2 separate regions of the Homo sapiens genome follow, and region 2 is linked to region 1. Evidence: promoter capture Hi-C in 16 types of primary human blood cells and fetal thymus (Javierre and others, 2016). All regions are on one chromosome and are shown on one strand. The core of a region is centred on a gene start or on the middle of the fragment in contact, and the rest is flanking DNA. Distances in the headings are between cores, read along the strand shown.

The links. The method cuts DNA at HindIII sites, captures the fragments that hold promoters and counts their contacts. A CHiCAGO score of 5 or more calls a contact.
Region 2: a fragment that was not itself captured here is called in contact with the fragment with the promoter of ERCC4 in region 1 in 2 of 17 cell types (naive CD4 T cells and total CD8 T cells); the score reaches 7.4 in naive CD4 T cells.

What each region holds. Positions count from the first base shown.
Region 1 is chr16:13,918,633-13,921,601 of GRCh38, forward strand. It overlaps ERCC4 (ERCC excision repair 4, endonuclease catalytic subunit), which reads left to right and starts at 1,522. Exons shown (of 11, transcript NM_005236.3): 1 at 1,522-1,740. The coding sequence starts at 1,534. All of the region lies in intron 1 of LOC105371093 (a long non-coding RNA gene), which reads right to left. It overlaps LOC124903647 (a long non-coding RNA gene), which reads right to left and starts at 1,446. Exons shown (of 2, transcript XR_007065001.1): 1 at 1,047-1,446; 2 at 833-951. RefSeq lists enhancers at 1,106-1,155, 1,366-1,725, 1,766-1,975. The HindIII fragment of the contact is 6,939 bases long and covers 1-2,969 here.
Region 2 is chr16:10,740,347-10,743,315 of GRCh38, forward strand. No RefSeq gene overlaps it. Among named protein-coding and RNA genes, the nearest start is that of NUBP1, 2.0 kb to the right of the region's middle. The HindIII fragment of the contact is 2,751 bases long and covers 162-2,912 here.

The sequences.
Region 1 (2,969 bases), core at 272-2,771:
CCATTTTTCTCACTGGCAGAACTGACGAGATTAATATCTGCCTCAGAGGAAACGCTGTATGTAAAGTGTCTGCCGGCAACCCTTTCCACTTAAACAGCATTCAGGAATTATATGCTATTTTCATCTTGACAAAATGTAAGCAAAATACCAGATTAAGCAGTAAAGAGGTAGAGGAACAGATCCTCTTGGAAACGGCTAGTGTGAATGTGAATTGGTATAGGCTTTCTAGAGGGCAATGTGGCAATGTGAATGGAATGAAAAGCCTTACAAATTTTTTTCTCTTTATCCCAGTGATTATTCATTTCTAGACGTGTATCTGAAGGCCACGGCTGAATTTACATACAAAGATGTTTAGTGAAATATTATTTATATTACTGGAAGGGAAAAAGCAGAAACAGACTAAATGTCCTCTAATAAGCAATTAGGTAAGTACACCCACATAATGGAAATCTCATCAGCCATATAAAAGGACTTTGTAAAAGAATATGAAACATCATGTTCAGAGGTTTGCCAAATGTTAATGACAAAGCTGGGGATTTAAATCAGGGATATTAATTATCTCGTGTCGGTAAAAGAACTCCGTGTGATGAGAGAATGTGTATATAGATAGAAAAAAAAGGACTAAATAAAATAGATTTCGTGATGTTAACAGTGGTTATTTCCAAGTAATGGAAACAAGTGATTTTCATTTTTGTTTACTTGTATTTTCTATTTTCTAATAACAAAGGTGGGGGGTTTCTATACAAAACAATTCCTCTACTAGTTCAACTATCAGGCATTTCTAGGTATAGAACAAACACTGCGGGAGGTGTCCCTCTAGTGGAAGGAGGGATTTTTAAAAATAGTTTATTGTATTGAAGTCTTTGGGAGGCAAACAGAGGTCTGAAGTCAGTAAATGATTCTGCTTATTCCACAGCCACTGCACTCCAGCCTGGGCAACATATCAACATCCTGTCTCGGGAAAGAAAAAAAAAATTAAAAGAAGGATGGGGAGTAATCGCAAAAGGAAGGGCCAAAAACCACCCTAGGAAACAGGTGCTACTAACTCTTGGCGCATTTGGAATATTGACCAGTAACTTTTTCAACTGTCGATGTCGGGGGATTAAGCTCCTTAGGCTTACTTCCCCTTCCCTTGCTTTTTGGCAGCTTGAGGCTAGGGTGCCAGGGGATGTGGAAACTCAAAAGAGACGTGAATGGAGCCTGATATCTGCAAGCTACACCGACAGGGGGCGCCAGCCCCTACAGGTGACTCCATGAATCTTCGGCTCCACTCGGCTCTTCTTCGGCTGAGTTCGGCCAACGCTTGCCTTCTCAGGCTCGGCTCTCTTCGGCTTTCTGAGAGCGCGCCTGTCGTGGCCTCGGCTCCTCTTCGGCTGCGTTCGGCCCACGATCATCTCAGTCTCAGCTCTCCTCGGCTACGTTCGGCTGGCTGCCGTCCTCTCGGACTCGGCTCTCTTCGGTTGAGTTCGGCCTACTCTCCACTAGGAGTCGGCTTCCTTCGGCTGCGTTCGGCTGCGACCCGGAAGAGCTTCCATGGAGTCAGGGCAGCCGGCTCGACGGATTGCCATGGCGCCGCTGCTGGAGTACGAGCGACAGCTGGTGCTGGAACTGCTCGACACTGACGGGCTAGTAGTGTGCGCCCGCGGGCTCGGCGCGGACCGGCTCCTCTACCACTTTCTCCAGCTGCACTGCCACCCAGCCTGCCTGGTGCTGGTGCTCAACACGCAGCCGGCCGAGGAGGTGCGGCCGCGCTGGCGCGGGAGTGAGGGGACTCCGAGAGTGTTGAGGGCCTCCTGAGCGGATGCGAGGCCTCTGACAGGGATGGAGGGGCTCTGAGGGGGATTCAGGCCCCTGACACTACGCGATGACACAGAGAAGGATGGCAGGGGTCCCCAGGGGGATGCAGGTCCCTCACACTGCGGGAACACAGACGTATGTAAGGGGTCGCTAGGAGGATACCGGTCGCTCACACCGTGCGGGGACACTGATAAGAATTGGAGGGGCCCCGAGAAGGCTGCAGGTCCCTGGCAGGAGTTGAAGAACACTAAGAGGAATGCCAGTCCCTGACACTGTGCGGGGACTCTGAGAGGGAAGGGAGGGGTCCCAAGAAGGATGCAAGTCTTTGACCAGAGTTCAAGAACACTAAGAGAAATGGGAGGGGTCCCCAGGGGATGCGGGTCCCTGACACTGTGCAGGCACAGTGAGAATGATGGAAGGGGTCCCGAGAAGGATGCAATTCCCTGACAACACTAAGAGGGATGGGAGGGGTCCCCAGAAGGATGCAGGTCCCTGACATGGGTGCAAGGGCACTGAAAGGTGAAGGGGCTCTGAGTGGTAGGAGAGGATCGGAGGTCGCTGCAGGGGAGGGGGAGATGTCGGAAGGAGGATCTGGATAGGAATAACGGGAGAGTCCTGAAGTTGGCCATTAAGGGAGTTTCTGGGGGCAGAAGGAAGGTCCCTGAAAGGGAACAGTGATGAGGATGGAAGATCTCTGAGGGTGATGGGGAGACATGAAAGGAGATGCTGAGGCGCTGGAAAAACCCCAATAGGGAAAAGGAGGGACCAGGAAATAGGACATTCACCAAGGCTGTGTTAAGAGGGCCATAGGGTCAGAAAGGGATTGGAGCTTGACGCTGAGGATGTTGGCAAAGGTTAACTACAGTTAAGGACAATGGAGAACACTGAGAAAGATGGAATGGGGCTACACATGGGTCTGAGGGGTGTTGAGAGGGGACACAGCTTGGTCGGACAAGTCTGATGATCCCCTAGATATATCAGGTGGCCGGGAGAAAAATGTCAGCTGAGAAGAGTGACCACAGTCTCTTTGAGGGCAGGGATCCTGTTTGATTCATCTAGGTATCCCCAGTGCTTGGCATAGGGCCTAAGGCAACACACAGGGCCTAGTAAAGATGGTTTTAAACTGGGGATATAAATAAACCAAGCCAAGGGACCCAGTGACATGAAGTCCC
Region 2 (2,969 bases), core at 287-2,786, 3.2 Mb before region 1:
GCCGCTGGTTTAGGAGGCCTTCACTGAGAGCACAGGGGTGGCTCAGCTCAGTTCCAGGTGTTTCACCTCCCATGGGCGAGCCCAGACCTTCTCCTAGCCTGTGTACCTTTAAGTGGCAGGGGAGCTGGAGAGGGATTAAAACAGGCAAAAGCCCCATTACAAGCTTTTTCTTGAATCACATTTGCTAAAGTAAGTCACATGCCTGAGCACAGAGTCAAGGGGTAGGATGGAACCCCCTCCCCGCACGTGGGAGGGCACTGCAAAGTTCAGCAGCCAAGGGCACAGATCCAGACAGGGAGAGAAGTGGGGTCATGTGTGCTACCAGCCTACCACCTAGGGGTGCAGCTGCTGACCTGATGTCTGATTGGATGCAGGGGGTGCTGTGGGCGTCTCTATGGACAACACTGACCCCCATCCCTGTATAGGTACGCCACCCCACTAATCAACAAGAGGAGTCTGTGTCTGTGACACTTTGACCGAGAGAACATGGTGAAAGTGACTGCCACTTCCCAGCTTTGTCATTCCCAGCTGCCATTTAAAGGGACACAGGCTAGACCACTGAAAAATGAGAGAGGGAGGCCACGAGGGGGGAATCAAGGCCAGTGTGAGAGTGAAGCCATTTGAGACCTTCCAGCCAACTCCCAGCTGAATGAAGCCACATTAAGGGAGCCCAGGTGAAACCAGAAGAGTCACAGGAAGCAATAAACCATGGTGGGTTTAAACCACTACATATTGGGGTGACTTGTCACACAGCACTTGATCACTGATGGAGATGGAGAAAACTAAACAAGGCTGATACTCAGATTTACGGCTTGAGTTCTTAGCCCAGGGGTCATGCCCTGTCCAGGTATAACAAATCCAGAGGCAGGAACCGCCTTGAGAAGAAGTTGTAGACGTTTATTTGTTACGCTTGTGGGATGTCCATGCAATAAAATCCAATAGGCACAAGGTAGGATCCACAGATCCGAACTCACGGAGCAAGAGGTGTGGGAGCTGGAGACAGAAGATGGATAGCATCAGGGCTGTCAGTTGCTTGCCCAGGAGGAAGTGGGAAGTGGGACTGGAAGTGGCCCAAGAACAGAGTCTTGGGGAGCACTCACCTTAAGAAGCGGCCCTGGCCAGGCGCGGTGGCTCACACCTGTAATCCTAGCACTTTGGTAGGCTGAGGCGGGTGGATCACCTGAGGTCAGGAGTTCGAGACCAGCCAGGCCTACATGGTAAAACCCCGTCTCTACCAAAAATACAAAAAATTAGCCAGGCGTGGTGGTGGGCACCTGTAGTCCCAGCTACTCAGGAGGCTGACACAGGAGAATTGCTTGAACCCGGGAGGTGGAGGTTGCAGTAAGCCAAGATCACACCACTGCACTCCAGCATGAGCAACAGAGTGAGATTCCATCCCACAAAAATAAAAATAAAAAGGAGAATAACTTGCATCCTGCCCTCTAATATACAGTATAGTGATTAATAGCAAAGGCCCTGTATCAGACTTGGTTAAAAACCCAGTTCTGCTCTTTCTGCCTCTCAGACTGTGGACAAGTAAATCTTTGCAGCCATCTTATCACCTGTAAAACGGAAATGACAACAGTCCCTACCTGATAGGTGACTTCCTCTCTGCTCTCCAGGCCTTTGCTGATGCCCCATCACTCTGGTCCTCTTCTCCCGACCAGACTGTGCTCCAGATGGCAGGGTCCAGGTTAGTCTGGAATCATTGGCATCTAGCCCAGTGCTGGCTGGGACCATGTGTTACTAAGTGCAGGCTCTGCAGCCAGACAGACCAAGTTTATCACCCTGGTTCCCCTGCTACCAGTCATGCGACCTCGGGAAAGTAGTTTACTTTAAGCCTCAGTTTCCTTATCCAAAAATGGAGACAGTAGGACTATGAAAGGACATAAATTAGGTAATTCACATGAAAGCACAAAGATGACAGCTGCCAAACGGTAAGTATTCTACAAAATGCTGGCTATAATTAGTGGTAGTGACAGGCAGCTGATACACTGCTGTTTAATAAATGTTTCCGAGGCCGGGTGCGGTGGCTCATGCCTGTAATCCCAACACTTTGGGAGGCCAAGGCGGGCAGATCACGAGGTCAGGAGATCGAGACCATTCTGGCTAACATGGTGAAACCCTGTCTCTACTAAAAATACAAAAAATTAGCCGGGCGTGGTGGCCTGTAGTCTCAGCTACTCGGGTGGCTGAGGCAGGAGAATGACGTGAACCCAGAAGGCGGAGCTTGCAGTGAGCCGAGATCCCACCACTGCACTCCAGCCTGGGTGACAGAGCGAGAATCCGCCTCAAAAATAAATAAATAAATAAACGTTTCCATATTCTTAGTGTCTGGGGCTAGGTAAAGTTTGTTCACTCATTAATATTCCAGGTGCCAAACCTGTGAGCAATGACACTCCAGTAGCAATGAGCATTTGTGGCATCCACATCTTGGTTTCTGAACTGTTGTCTGCTAAAAAGTAACCAAGGCTCCCTGAAGAAATGACTGCAGCAGGGAGAAGGGATGACTGAAACATCTTGTATCAGAAAGCAAGAAAATGCTCAAAGAAGCTGGATTAGTGCCCAAAGAACATAAGAACTGTCTTGAAGGGGCTTCACTGGCCACATCTGGGGGAAAAAAAATCGACCAGAAAGAATAATAATTGATTATAAAAGACAATTTTAAAAAATCCAGGAATCCATAGTGAGTCTTCGAAAAAAAAGAAAAAAAGAGAGGGTATAAAACTGATATATATTTATCATATATATAATCTATAGTTTTATATATATATATATAAATGCTGCTAAAATCACTGAGTGAAAGGCTGATAGAGAAGAAGATGGTCCCAGAGAGTACCTGTTAATTACAAATGGAAGAAGGAAACATTAAATGGAGAAATGGGGCAGACACCACCTTTAGCAAGCGATCAAGCTTCACATTACCAAAAACGGGACAAACTGACATTATCCAAGTGTGTTCTGCAGGA